3 separate regions of the Homo sapiens genome follow, and all the other regions are linked to region 2. The links are contacts of gene promoters, found by promoter capture Hi-C in blood cells and fetal thymus (Javierre and others, 2016). All regions are on one chromosome and are shown on one strand. The core of a region is centred on a gene start or on the middle of the fragment in contact, and the rest is flanking DNA. Distances in the headings are between cores, read along the strand shown.

The links. The method cuts DNA at HindIII sites, captures the fragments that hold promoters and counts their contacts. A CHiCAGO score of 5 or more calls a contact.
Region 1: a contact is called between a fragment that was not itself captured here and the fragment with the promoter of CBLB in region 2, in 4 of 17 cell types (activated CD4 T cells, total CD4 T cells, naive CD8 T cells and 1 more). The highest score is 7.9, in activated CD4 T cells.
Region 3: a contact is called between a fragment that was not itself captured here and the fragment with the promoter of CBLB in region 2, in 1 of 17 cell types (activated CD4 T cells). The highest score is 5.1, in activated CD4 T cells.

Annotation. Positions count from the first base shown.
Region 1 is chr3:106,159,111-106,163,673 of GRCh38, reverse strand. No RefSeq gene overlaps it. Among named protein-coding and RNA genes, the nearest start is that of CBLB, 290 kb to the right of the region's middle. The HindIII fragment of the contact is 3,859 bases long and covers 526-4,384 here.
Region 2 is chr3:105,866,181-105,870,612 of GRCh38, reverse strand. It overlaps CBLB (Cbl proto-oncogene B), which reads left to right and starts at 1,601. Exons shown (of 19, transcript NM_170662.5): 1 at 1,601-1,877; 2 at 3,022-3,203. The coding sequence starts at 3,036. RefSeq lists a silencer at 1,403-1,632 and enhancers at 3,390-3,479, 3,600-3,649, 3,680-3,729. The HindIII fragment of the contact is 9,979 bases long and covers 1-2,286 here.
Region 3 is chr3:106,138,670-106,143,103 of GRCh38, reverse strand. No RefSeq gene overlaps it. Among named protein-coding and RNA genes, the nearest start is that of CBLB, 270 kb to the right of the region's middle. The HindIII fragment of the contact is 2,131 bases long and covers 1,524-3,654 here.

The sequences.
Region 1 (4,563 bases), core at 1,206-3,705, 290 kb before region 2:
ATAAAATGTTCCTCTTTGTCTTTTTTAACTTCTGTTGCTTTAAAGTTTCTTTTGTCTGATATAAGAATAGCTCCTCTTGCTCTCTTTTGGTGTCCATTTGCATGGAATATCTTTTTCCACCCCTTTACCTTAAGTTTATGTGAGTCCTTCTGTGTTAGGTGAGTCTCCTGGATACAGGAGAAACTTGGTTGGTAATTTCTTATCCATTCTGCCATTCTGTATCTTTTAAGTGGACCATTTAGGCCATTTACATTCAATGTTAGTATTGAGATGTGAGGTGCTATTCTATTCATTGTGCTATTTGTTGCCTAAATAACTTGTTTGTTTGTTTTTTCATTGTTATTGTTATATAGATTCTGTGAGAGTTATGCTTTAAGGAGCTTCTATTTTGGTGAATTTTGAGATTTTGTTTCAAGATTTAGAGCTCCTTTTAGCAGTTTTTGTAGTGCTGGCCTGGTAGTGGCAAATTCTCTCAGCATTCGTTTGTTTGGAAAAAGACTGTATCTTTCTTTCATTTATGAAGCTTAGTTTTGCTGGGTAAAAAATTCTTGGCTGATAATTGGAAGAGATATCTGCACTTCTCTATTCATTGCAGCATTATTGACATTAGTCAAGATGTGGAATCAAGCTAAGTGTCCATCAACAGATGAAAAGATTTTAAAAAGTGATATATATGTATGTGTGTGTATATACATGTATGTATGTATATGTGTGTCTGTGTATGTCTCTCTCTCATATATAATGAAATATTATTCAGTCTTCAAAAAAAAGGAATGCTTCCATGCCTTCCACATGTGACAACATGGATAAATCTAGAGGGCATTATGCTAAGTGAAATGAACCAGAAACAGGAAGACAAATCCTGCGTGTATCACTTACATGTGGAATCTAAAAAAGTTGAACTCTTTAGGCACCAATATTTTTAAAGTAGGATCATTTCTCCTAATAATATGAATTTCCAGTTTTTCCAGAAAGATAGCAAGAATTACAATGCTGGGTCACAATGGCACGATAGTCTGAGGCTAAGGCCCACTTCAGATAAAGCATGCATTCTTTGTTTACCTCAGTGTCTGCTCACCACAATTTATTCACTGCTAATACCCTCTTGTTCCCTGCAGGTACATCTGTGTGTGACACCTATGTGTGTTTTTCAAAGAGCAAAAGTCTTTATAACTATAGGAGCTTATTGAGATAAAGAAAACTACAGCTTTTTAAAGACGGTAAGAGAGTCTTCAAAGGCTATTTTCTTTTGTGTTGCTGACCTGCTTGACTTAATAAAGTAGATATGAATGTGTAGAGAAATATAAAAAGAAAATAAATTCAAAGTAGGGTGAAATAAGAAATCACCTTTTATTTTTGCTCCAAATTTTCCATTCCTGTATTATCTAATTGAAATTATTACTAATAGTTTTATATACATCCTTCCATATATGTTTCTAAGTTTGTGTGTAGGTACACATACATGCATGCATCCACTGTTTACATTAATGGTATCAGAATACACGTCTTATTCCATGAATTTTTTTTTACATAAGAATAGAGCCCTTTTCATATAAGTACATATAAATCTGCTCCAAATTTTGATGGCAACATAATATTTAAAATGCAAATTATTAGTTTATTGAACCATTCCATCACTGATCCACATTTAGGCTGTTTCTGGTTTTTTACTTTTTGAACAATAATAATATGGCCATATTTATTCATATTTCTTGATGCACATTTGTCAGTGTGTATGCAGGATGAACTCATCCTAAGTTGTATTATGGGGTCAAAATAAGTGCATGTTTTAGAGTCTGATTGATATGGCTAGACAAAAGAAATCAATCATTAATCCTTGCCAAATGTTAAAGCCTTTCTTCTGATGTTTAGGTGAAGTATGGATCTGGTTAGATTTTGGTGAGGGCTCCCTAAATATAGTGTGACATTTTCATTTGATAAGAATATTTGTCTGGGTTATGTTCTCCCTATGTGCAAATTTAAACAGTTTCGTGTCAAAAACAAACAGAACGGCATCCACTCCTTGCTTCTCTCCCCTCCCCCTGCCACACACATAAACTGGTATACCTGTCTCTGGAAAGTAGACTGGACATCTTTTACTTATGATGAAGATGACAATAGAGACATAATTGATCTTCATTGCAACAAATCGGATGCCTAGAAGGAAGCCAAATGGTAGAGATACAGGGCTCTGTGTCAAAAATCCTAAGAGGCAGGAAGTGCCCTGGGATATGCTCCAGCTGCAGCGGAAATGTGAGAAGCCTCAAATGGTTAAAAGGTAATAGCCTGCTGAAGGAGAGACGTGTGTGTAGCAGGATGTGTTGCTACAAAGAATTTCTCTAGCTCTTTGTTGTTAAGTTAATTTAATACTGTGCATATCCATTTGCTTTCTACTGAATTTTACTGCGTAAGATAAGAAAAAGGCTATGGTATATAGACATTCATTTCACCTCTTCTGCTGATGCCACACCTTTGCATCTTACCTGTAACTTCCCTGTGAAAACACCACTGAAGAGGCAATGAGTTATAAAATGGCTACTTTTTTTCCTCCAAAATAATATTTCACTAATACCTGTGTTTGGAAATTCATATAGAATTCTAATTACACACATTTATTATGAAATGTGATATTTATTCTAGGGGAAAGTATATCCTATTATTTAATAATAGTTTTGTCCAAAGGGCAAATATTAACAGAGATTAATGGATTCATCCTTTTAACATTTATACAATGTGGGAAAGGGCAAATAACATTATTCTCATTAAAGATTATTATATTTCATAGAATAAGTACCAGTATGTTTTGAGCCTAACTGAACATAATTTATGAGTGTAGAAATCTAAATTATTCATATCAATAGCTTTTATTTGTGGAGTATCAGCAGTTCGTCACATACCCTAACTGGAGCAACATCAGCAACCTTGTGAATTTTGCAGAATAGGTGCTAAATTTGATTTGCCAATGTTGCCTCAAGTTCACTTGTAAAAGGTCAGTATACAAATGAATTTAATAAGCAATTTTGAGATTAGAAATCTGAGAGGTTAAGTGTATTACCCAAGACCATATTAGTAACAGACCAAGGCCAACATTTCCACAGAGCTCAAGGGCAGAACTACTTACCTCCTACTTGCTTTTATTTTCTTTCTTCAGAGAGAATGTGTTCTTTCTTGTGAGGTTTTTCACTTGCCCACCCTGTCAGTAACAGGCATTAGGACTTCCAAACCACTCTCCACAATGAGAGTCTCCACTCTCCACTGTCACTTGGCATTAGCTGTGCTGTTTTGTTTTGCTTTGTTTTTTGTTTTGTGTGAGACAGAGTCTGGCTTTGTCACCCAGACTGGGGTGCAATGGAGACATCTCGGCTCACTGCAACCTCCACCTCCCGGGTTCAAGCGATTCTCCTACCTCAGCCTCCCAAGTAGCTGGGATTGCAAGCACACACCACCACTCCCAGCTAATTTTTGTATTTTCAGTAGAGACAGGATTTCCCCATTTTGGCCAGGCTGGTCTCAAACTCCTGACCTCAGGTGATCCACCCGCCTCCGCCTCCCAAAGTGCTGGGATTACAGGCGTGAGCCACTGTACCTGGCAGGTTTTGGATCCATTGAAGAAATAGTATTTTGAAGTTGTAAATGATAAAATATACACGAAAAGTTGCAACAGAACTGAAACAAAAGTGAAGACAGAGAATAAAATACTAGCTATCAGTTTTTAATGAGTTCACGCATCTACCTCCAGGAAAACTTGTTGTGGTGAAAAGAGTTGTATCCAACTTTGGGTTCAGTTCTGGGTTTTGCATTTCTAGCTGTGTGAAATACAAGCAAAATATTTTTTTAGCTGCTTTGAACCTTAATATCTTCAGTGATAAAATGGGAATGACAATAGCTATGTCATAACGTGTTTTTTAAGAGTTAAGGTAATGTATGTAAAATCATTGTACCTTGTGAGTTCTTAATAAATTGTAGCAGTAATTAATAAAGTATGAAATCAGATTGCTGAATTGACTTACATATCATATGATATCTAGAATACATTGTTAATTAGTAACTGATTTACCAAAATTTATAGGGGCAGGGAAACAGTGAGTACTAAGACTTAGCAAGTATTCACTTAACTCAAAGGATGCTATACAAATCTCATTTCTATTAGAGTGTGATGTTAGATCAGGGATCAGCAAACCACAGCACACAGTCCAAATCTGGCATGCAGTCTGCTTTTGTGTTTCTGAGAACTAAAACTTTTTTTCATATTTTTAAACAAGCAAACCAAAAACACAGAAGAATATTTCTTCACATGAAAATTATACAAAAATCAAATTTAAGTCTTCATAATCAAGTTTACTAGAACATAGCCACACTTATGCATTTGTCATACAAGGAAGCTTTGGCATTACAATGACAGTCCTTGGAACAGAGATCATATGATCTACAAAACCTAAAATCTTTACTTTCTGGCCTTTTATGGAAAAAGTTTGCAGATTCTGTACTAGACTATTGGGTCACAGAAATTTCCCAGACACATTATTTCTGTATTTAAGAAATAATTTAACAAAGCCAACATGC
Region 2 (4,432 bases), core at 352-2,851:
GGAGGAGATATGGAGAGGCCAGCACTTTTGTAGATAAATGCAATGTGAAAACAAGGAACTACTCTTTAATTACTGGCACAGAAATAATGACAAGGAAACAAAATTACTTCCTGAATCACACTTTATCACCTGACTGGTTGCAAAGGCACATTTTTTTTCTGTTTTCGTCAAATTAAAATCTTAACCATGTAAATTCAAGGCTGTAAAGGAAAACTCAGGATCCTTCATAGTAATAATTACAGTATTAAAATTCTTAGTTGCTAGAAAGTGGTTAGAACCATTGAGAAACATTTTATCAGGTTACGTGGTTAGAGCAAGATTTGAAAAAACAAAATCAAAAACAAAAAACCCAATGTAAAATATCAGAACATCTGAGATGTCCAAGCTGAAAAGTGTAATAAACGCTATCAACTGTAGTGGAAAGAAAGTTCCAAAGTATGAAGTCCAGAGCAATTGTTGGTAGCATGAGTGGTGGGATTGAAGTAAACTGAAATAAATGGAAGGCATTTGTTTAACCTATGATATTGCTGAAAGACAAGTCCCAGCACAGTAGCTTTCTCCTTTAAAGACTAGCCAGATGTCGGCCTTTTTAAGAGCACAAAGAAGGGAGCCACAGAAAGAGGTAACAATGCTGGTAGAGAATGGCAGCTACAGTAAGGTTGTTTTTAAATGGATAGAAATCTATGTAAAGGTGACTCCGACAAAACACAGTAGCTGTCTCCTCCTCAGTCATTTAGGCAGAAACTTGCACTAAGTAAAAAGGTGCAAGGTATTTATCAGCAATTCCCATTATCTGGTACTTTTATTGCTTTGGCATGATTAGCAGAGACTGTTTGGCCAGCGTTGTCAACTATTTGCTTTTTCATCAGCCTGATGTTTGGTCTGCAATCCCTCTAAAACTAACAGCAAAAGAGAAACTCGGAAACTTGGGAAGTTTCAGTTGGCATTCAGATGTCACCCCAGCCTACTCTCTGTGAGATTTATTCTGCATTTTAGAAGCTCAGTGGCTGTTGCTCTTTTTGATAGCCAACAAGAAGCAACGTCATAGACCTGTTTGGCTGCTGTCCTGGGTAGAAGGGTTTGGCAGCCCTAGGGAGATGAATTTCTCCAGCGTTGGACCCGCCCAGAGCGGAGAAGCAACACCCTTCCAGCCACTACTCTGTTGCTATGAAACAAAAGACTAGGAAGGTAAGCGAAGCAGGAAGTCCCGCCTTTCAGCCCCAGATGGCTTTGGCTCCCGGTCCCGACGCTCACGCCCACCTGCCACCCCTTATTGGTTAGCTCCTTCGTGCCTTGCATCCCTTCGTCCATTTCCTTTCCCGTTTCCACTTTCGTTCCCGGGAGAGTCCAGGCCCCTCATTTCTCTCCGAGTCCAATTCCTTTCTGACGTGCTGCGAGCGGGCCTTCCTCTGGGGCCATTGTGTACTGTGGAGGACGTGGACGGGGCGGCAGCGCGAGGAGGACGGGCGCCTCCCGTCCATTGGCTGCACCCGCTGTCGGGCAGTGCGCGGTTGCGCGGCATTGGCTCAGCGGCGCCCGGCCCCGCCCCCGCCCCGCCCCGCCCCGAGCCTGGGTCCTGTGTGTGCCACAGGGGTGGGGTGTCCAGCGAGCGGTCTCCTCCTCCTGCTAGTGCTGCTGCGGCGTCCCGCGGCCTCCCCGAGTCGGGCGGGAGGGGAGAGCGGGTGTGGATTTGTCTTGACGGTAATTGTTGCGTTTCCACGTCTCGGAGGCCTGCGCGCTGGGTTGCTCCTTCTTCGGGAGCGAGCTGTTCTCAGCGATCCCACTCCCAGCCGGGGCTCCCCACACACACTGGGCTGCGTGCGTGTGGAGTGGGACCCGCGCACACGCGTGTCTCTGGACAGCTACGGCGCCGAAAGGCAAGAAGGGAAGGGGTCGCCGGGGAGGCTCCACACTTCTTGCCGGCCCGGGGGCCCGGGGTAGCCAGGCGCGGGCCAAGGAGGAAGAGGGGACAGCCCTGGCTCTCAGCTGCCTTTGCCGCCGCCGTCCAGTTTGAAGTGGGGCATTTAAAGACCAGAACCCGCAGGCCGGGGAGGAGGGAGAGGGCGTCCAGGCAGACGGCGGTGAGGACTGCAGCAGGCGGCCGGGAGGCGCGTCCACCCAGGCGCCGAGCCCACAGTGTCCCTCCCGCGCCCTAGACGGACGGTGCTGCGGGCACGGGAGGGACACTTTGTCCCCTCCCAGTCCACCTTCCTCCTGCAGCTCAGACCCGAGGGGCCGGGAAGGGGCCTGAGCAGGGAAGGGACACAGGCGTCCTGAAACAAAGCTTTGGGTTGAGGGCAGAGGCGAGGAGCCAGAGAAGTGAACTCCTCCTTTCCGTGGCCGCTCTTGTCATTTTTCTCTTTTCTCTTTTCAAATGGGCTATTTGTGTGTTAATTTCATTTGGTTCTTGGGAATAACGACTCACCGCGTTGATTTAAAGAAAGGTGTTCGTGTGTCCGTACTTGGTGGTTTTAGTGTGGGACATGCCCTGCGCTTTTGTTGACAACAGAGCTGTCCCTTACGTTTGTGTAGGATAATCTTTATGTTTATGTAACTTGGAGAAATCTAACAGAGTGAAAGTGAAGTTTCTGCGTAAGGCTCCCAAAATGTATGATAGGACCTTCAGTTGTTCTGGTATTTTGAATTGGAATTAAGGCAGGAGGGGAAGAACATTCTGTTTTTATCTAGGTGGGGGAAACCTGTTTAAGTTTTGTTTGTTCTTTTTTTTTTTTTTATGAGTTGAGTATTAGTTCAGCCTTAGCTACTTGAAACGTGAGCAGGATGCATCTTTAACTCTTAGTATTGTAAAAGCAAATCTAGGATCACTGCTCTTAAAACTACTGTGTGTAAAGATTGAGAGTGTAAATTCACAAGCTTATTGATAAAGATGAATCCGGAACTTTTGGTTTTGCTCTAATCGATGGAGGAAGATGCAGTGGTACAAGTTAGTCTCTAGTTTTCTGGTGGGTAAATATTTTCAAAACCAACTAACTTTTCTTTTTTTAAATCTGCCTTTTAAAGAACTAAAATTCCAGATGGCAAACTCAATGAATGGCAGAAACCCTGGTGGTCGAGGAGGAAATCCCCGAAAAGGTCGAATTTTGGGTATTATTGATGCTATTCAGGATGCAGTTGGACCCCCTAAGCAAGCTGCCGCAGATCGCAGGACCGTGGAGAAGACTTGGAAGCTCATGGACAAAGTGGTAAGTTCTGTCTGACGTTGCCTGTGCGAAACACTATTCACTTTGTCTGTGGTTTCTCCAGATTTATTTATACTGTTAATTAATACCAACCATTGTTATGGCAACAATCTTTTGATTTCAATTCATCATTTTTCTTCAACTCTGTGTTTTTTGAAAAGTTGGATTCAAAGACTTTTTTGTTTTTTAACCTTTCATCCTTTCTACTCTTTAAGGTTCAGAGTTCCTCTACATGACTCAGTATGTAAAGTTTTACCATTGGCTGCTTTTTGTTGGTGTATGGCCATAGAATGCTTGGAAGTGTTTGTTCTGTCTTCTGTGAGGTTGTGTTGCTCTTAGATAACAAAAGAGTACCAGCAGGTTATTTAAGTCTTTGACCACTCATGACAATCATCTGGTATGATACTGAAAATATTTACTGGGGAAAGAAACAGATTAGTTCTTAAGTGAAGAAGCAGTAGTTGAGGGAGTTTCCATTTTCATCTTTGAGAATTCATCTTCATTAAGAAACTTTTTTTGTTGTTAATGGGAGAGTTAACAGTTTCTTTCATCTACTATTCCATTTTGAAACAGGAAACCTTTCGATGGCACATTGTTTATTGTGAAAGGAAAATTTATGTTGGGGGTGGTGAGGCTGAGAGTATCAGAAACCTCTGTGGTTTCTGCATGTTGCTTTCAGACAAACTATAATTTCACAAGAAGAAATCATGATGGGTGTCAGTATCCAGAGAAGTCAATCTGAATACCTTACAGAGATTTACTCAGAAACTGTAGCTGTCAGTATCCTACCTTACTAAGTATGATTATAAAATAAATTTAAGATGTAGCTTGCTGCTTTGCAAAAATTAATAATTCTTTTTTTTGAAGCAGTAGCACTGTCCTGGATTTATTAGTAAATGTTTGGAACACATTATGACTTTATTTCATAGATATCTGGGGCCAATTATAAGTTTAGTTGAGGCAAGACTCAGTATCTTTATAACTGAAGAAATGGAGGTTTTAAAAACAAATTTCTGTGTAAGGATGTGCCAAAGCATCCATGAAATCATGTGATAACATTCATCTTTGCTTTGATTTGCTCCTGTCTGTAAATATTGGCTATAAAAGCCACTATCAGTAGTAGTAGCAACATATGAATGTGACAAGATTTCCATTATTTTCATTTATTCTGATGGAAGGGACACACAGATGAATGACTGGCCTGTCATTCTACAGGCAATGGTGCTAAATGC
Region 3 (4,434 bases), core at 1,340-3,839, 270 kb before region 2:
GAAAGAGCAGGAAGAACAGCCAAATAATTATACATTTAGTTGCTTTTACAGTTCCAGAATATAATTTCTATTACAACTACATCTCTGCCAAGGTCATAGTTTAAAAAAATTTTGTAAGCAAACTTGATTACACCTTACCTGTACACCTCTGTGGGAAAGGCATAGACCTTATCCATATACTTAGACTTTAGGAAATGAACTATGAAATGGCTAATGTTCACATTTCACCAAAGGGAACTACCTCACCATCATTGGCTAAGAAATATTAGATTCTCCAAAGCCATCATCATGCTTTCTTTGAGACATAGCTGTACTTTCACTTTTCAAACTTTTCAACTATTTTTTTCTGTTTATTATTTCCTACCTTTCCAAATTATGGGAAAACTTCATTAATTTTGACTTGTTGAGGGACAAATGTTTAAGGTTGAGAAAAAGGGCTGAAGTAATTATTAGAAATTAGAGGTCTGGATCCATGTTGACCACTAAATAGGATGAGAACTTGGACAGTTATAATTATCTGTGCCTCAGATTGGGACTCCTGAATGACTCTCTTTTCTACCCGCCTCTATAAAATCCCAGGCTCCTTTCCTTTTCTTGTCAAGCTGTTTCTCATGAATGAATGTTGTCTTTATTTCAATAACCTGAATAAAATCTTTTTTCTAGTTGTCCCGTGCATTTTGTCTTTCACAGTTTGATGCCAAGACTCAGAGGGGATTGGATCTCACCTTCGGATCCCCATTTACTCCACCCTGATAAGGAGGCCTCTCTGGTCCCTTGGTGCTCCATTCCTAACTGGCAGTCCGGGGACCCAATGGTGTGTCCTACATCTGGTCTTGTGCTCTGTAGTCTCGTCTGTTGGTTGTGTGGTAAGGATTTGATTTCATTTTTATTCAGCACTCACTTGATTTCTAATGCTGGCTTCTTTTTAAAAAAATAAAAATAAACCATTTGACCACTCATTTGGTGGTCTCCAATGAATGGTTTGTAGAGATTTTGTCTCTGCTGGGTGAAAGATGACAGAAAATCTGTTTTTTAAATCTCTGTGTATCTATTATGAGCTCAAATCAAGTAAGAATTCAGACCCACTAGAAAGAGAACAGCTTTTTTATATAAATTTTGTATTTCTGTTTATGATCAACTTATGAGTAAAATTTTAGAAGTGAAGTTACATCTGTGTGTATAAAGTATGTTTATATGTCTATAATTTATAAAGCCCTTTCCCTCTCACTGGGTGGAATATTTTCCTAATTCCACATGGTATTCATAAGTTAGATTGCAAACTCTTTTATATTAAAGGAATCCTTTTCTAATTGGCTTTGAAAGGAATAAGCACTTACATAAATTAAATAATCCTAAAATTCTCAGAAACTAAGAAAAGTGAACATCTTATAGTTTCAGTGTGCAAAAAAAAAGATATTATAGAAACTAGCCTTGAACTATTTTAACAATTCAAGTTAATATAATTCAAGTAAGTTTTCATCAAACAAAACTAGTTTTAAATTTTTGGTTTAGTGAAAAAAGCTTTCTCTGATTTTTCAGCACAAGTATAGTATACCTAATTTTATTTTACTTGAGTATATTCTTCCTAAACTTACATACATTTACTGAACAAATAAAGTAGCATTAGTGATCCTCCCACTTTGGCCTCCCAAAGTGCTGGGACTATAGGCTTGAGCCACTGCATCTGGCCTTGTTCTCCTGAATGTTTAAAACTACGAAGAGTATAAATTTGTGTTTTACCTAATTAAATCATTATTCTGAGAAAATTTTTTCATCATAAATTACGTTTTATCATAGAAAAGTTTGAATACAATCTCGAAGATCTTTGGGTAACTTGAAATCTTGACTCAATACAACCTTTCAAACTAATGTTTTCAATTTATCTCCCTTTTTCCTGACTTGGCCTCATTTAGAACTAAAATCTGAATGCACAGATTCTCATTGCCTTATATCCTGCTCATTTCCCCATAGTCTACAGAAGCCTTGAAATATTAACTTCAAAATATTATCATCACAGTAGACCACGCCTGGGCTGGATTTCTTCCTGGGCAAGTCTCTAACTAGAACGCAAAAAAAGTCAAGCCAAAAGGTTGGGTCATGTATGACCTTCTGCAAGAGATGTGGACAACATCACCAAGAATATTGACAGCCTAGCCCAAGAGCTACGAGAAACTCAAAGAACACTGCTTTACAACCAAAAGATTTTTACCCTCTGACTTCTTGGAATCCACTGGATTTGTTACCCTAAGTGGTTCAGCTCCTGGCTCGCTAATACAATGTTTTATATTAATATTTCTTTTTCATTTTAGATCTCTCTTTTTTTAGATGTCTAATCTTCAGGTATCTAAAACAACTCAACTTTGCCACCATCCCTCAATGGGTTGTTTAACTGGTTTTACAGGACACTGTCAAAAGAATCCCTGAAAGACTATATCTTAGGCCTTGCTTCATTCACCCCACTAAGGTTTATGACTACCTCTCAGTTGTTCAGTGATTAATGATGTTTATCTTTGAAACAGGGAGAATGAAAATGTTGAATGTCACCTGACTTTTGTACTCTTTGAAAGTAGTGATGGATAAGAAATTGCCTCATATTTTCATGTTCTGGGAAATCATAAGAGATTACTCTGCCCTTAAATGTAAGACCCATCTCCATGCATTCTCTGCAGTCCTATAAGAACTGAAGTTACCTCCCTTGTTTACTTGCCTCTATAAAACTCCAGTCCTTCTTCCTTTTCTTTTAGCTGTTCCTCATTAATGCACATTTTCCAGGCTGCAGTAGCCTGAATAAAATCATATCTTTAATTGTTCAGTGCATTTTGCCTTTCAAAAACTTCTCTAAATTCCATTTTTTTCACCTGTGCTTCTTAAATATCTGAAGATTCACAAATATATTGCAAAAGTTTGTGATTATTTAAGTTGGTAGTGGAGTTCCTTTTCAATACAATTTTTCAAACAAAAAATAATTATTTTCCCCTTTATAACTGAACAGATTTTTAGGACCTCAGAATGCACTTTGAGTATGCACAACAGGGAGTAGGAATCTGATTAACATGCTGTTCTCTCTCTCATGCTTGCATTCTCTCTCTCTCTCCGTCTCTCTCTCAGTATCTTTATCAGTCAGCTGAACACTGCTAGAACAATTTACACCCTAATGGATGATAGTTAAAGACCATAATCACAAGGAACACTTAATGTTGAACAATAAATGATTATTTTGCAAATTCACCTCAGGGATCTTCATTATATCTATAAATTATATCCTTCAGATAAAGACCATCACATGCCGTATAATAATTTCTGTAGTAATTTAAAAATATATATTAAAAAGATAAAAGATGGTACTGATCATAGCGCATTTGGAAATAAAGACTATCCATAACCACAATATATTTCATGTGGAAAAGTGAAAGTAAATAAAAGGCTGAAATCCTCTTTCATCTCCTCAGTTATCAACAGAGCACAGAAATTTTAAAGTTGAAGTTCTTTTAAGTGTAAGCTAAAAGAATTACAAACAGCAGCTCACAATGTCAGCTTTGTTCATTTTTAATACTGAAAATCTTTATTAAAGTATAATCTTTATTTTAATGTATATTTGGCCCTAATGTCAGATTTGATACAATGCCATCTTAAAGTTTATCATTAAGTCAAGCTTTTTCTCACATAATTACTTTGAAGTTAAATAGTTTCCTAACTATTATTAAAGTTCATGCTAAACCTTAAACACTATCTTTAATAATTCTAACCTAATATAAATATATTTTTTCTAAAAATCATATTTCATATCACTCAGGAATGATAAAATAGTATAAAAATCCATAACATGAAGCCTTTCAGAGTATGTACTGCAGTAAAAGATGTTTGAGGCAAACACATATAAACAGACTCAGATGATAAACACCGAAGGTCTTCTGTAGCCATAATTCTATGAAAATGTCATTATAAACATGTATAGCAAGTAATTTATTTAATTGTAACCTTTTTAAACAAACATAGAAATGAGTTGTGATAGCACGCATTATTCCATCTAGTTTCGCTGCTACAATTACATTAAAAAGGAAAAAATATGAAAGCTTAATATAGGGTGTTCTCTTAAGTAAATATTCCCTTAGCTTTTACACTCTTATTTTGCTGCCTTAGTACTTCCATTAATGAAGCAAGATTAATTTCAACTGAATCATAGCACTTTGATTGCAAATTCCTATTTAGGTAATTGTGAAAGAATGAGATTTTATGTTTGTTTCCATTTTGAAACCAAGAGATATAGTTCCTTTGCTTGCTTCAATTTGCGGGATATTACTATTAAATTTTTGGCACTCTTTCTTTTTTAGCTTTATTAAATTGTTGGCACGCTTTCTTTTTTAGCTTTATTTGTAGTAACTCAAACTACAATCTTATTTCCAAATCCCTCCTGTACCCAAGCGCAGTACTGAA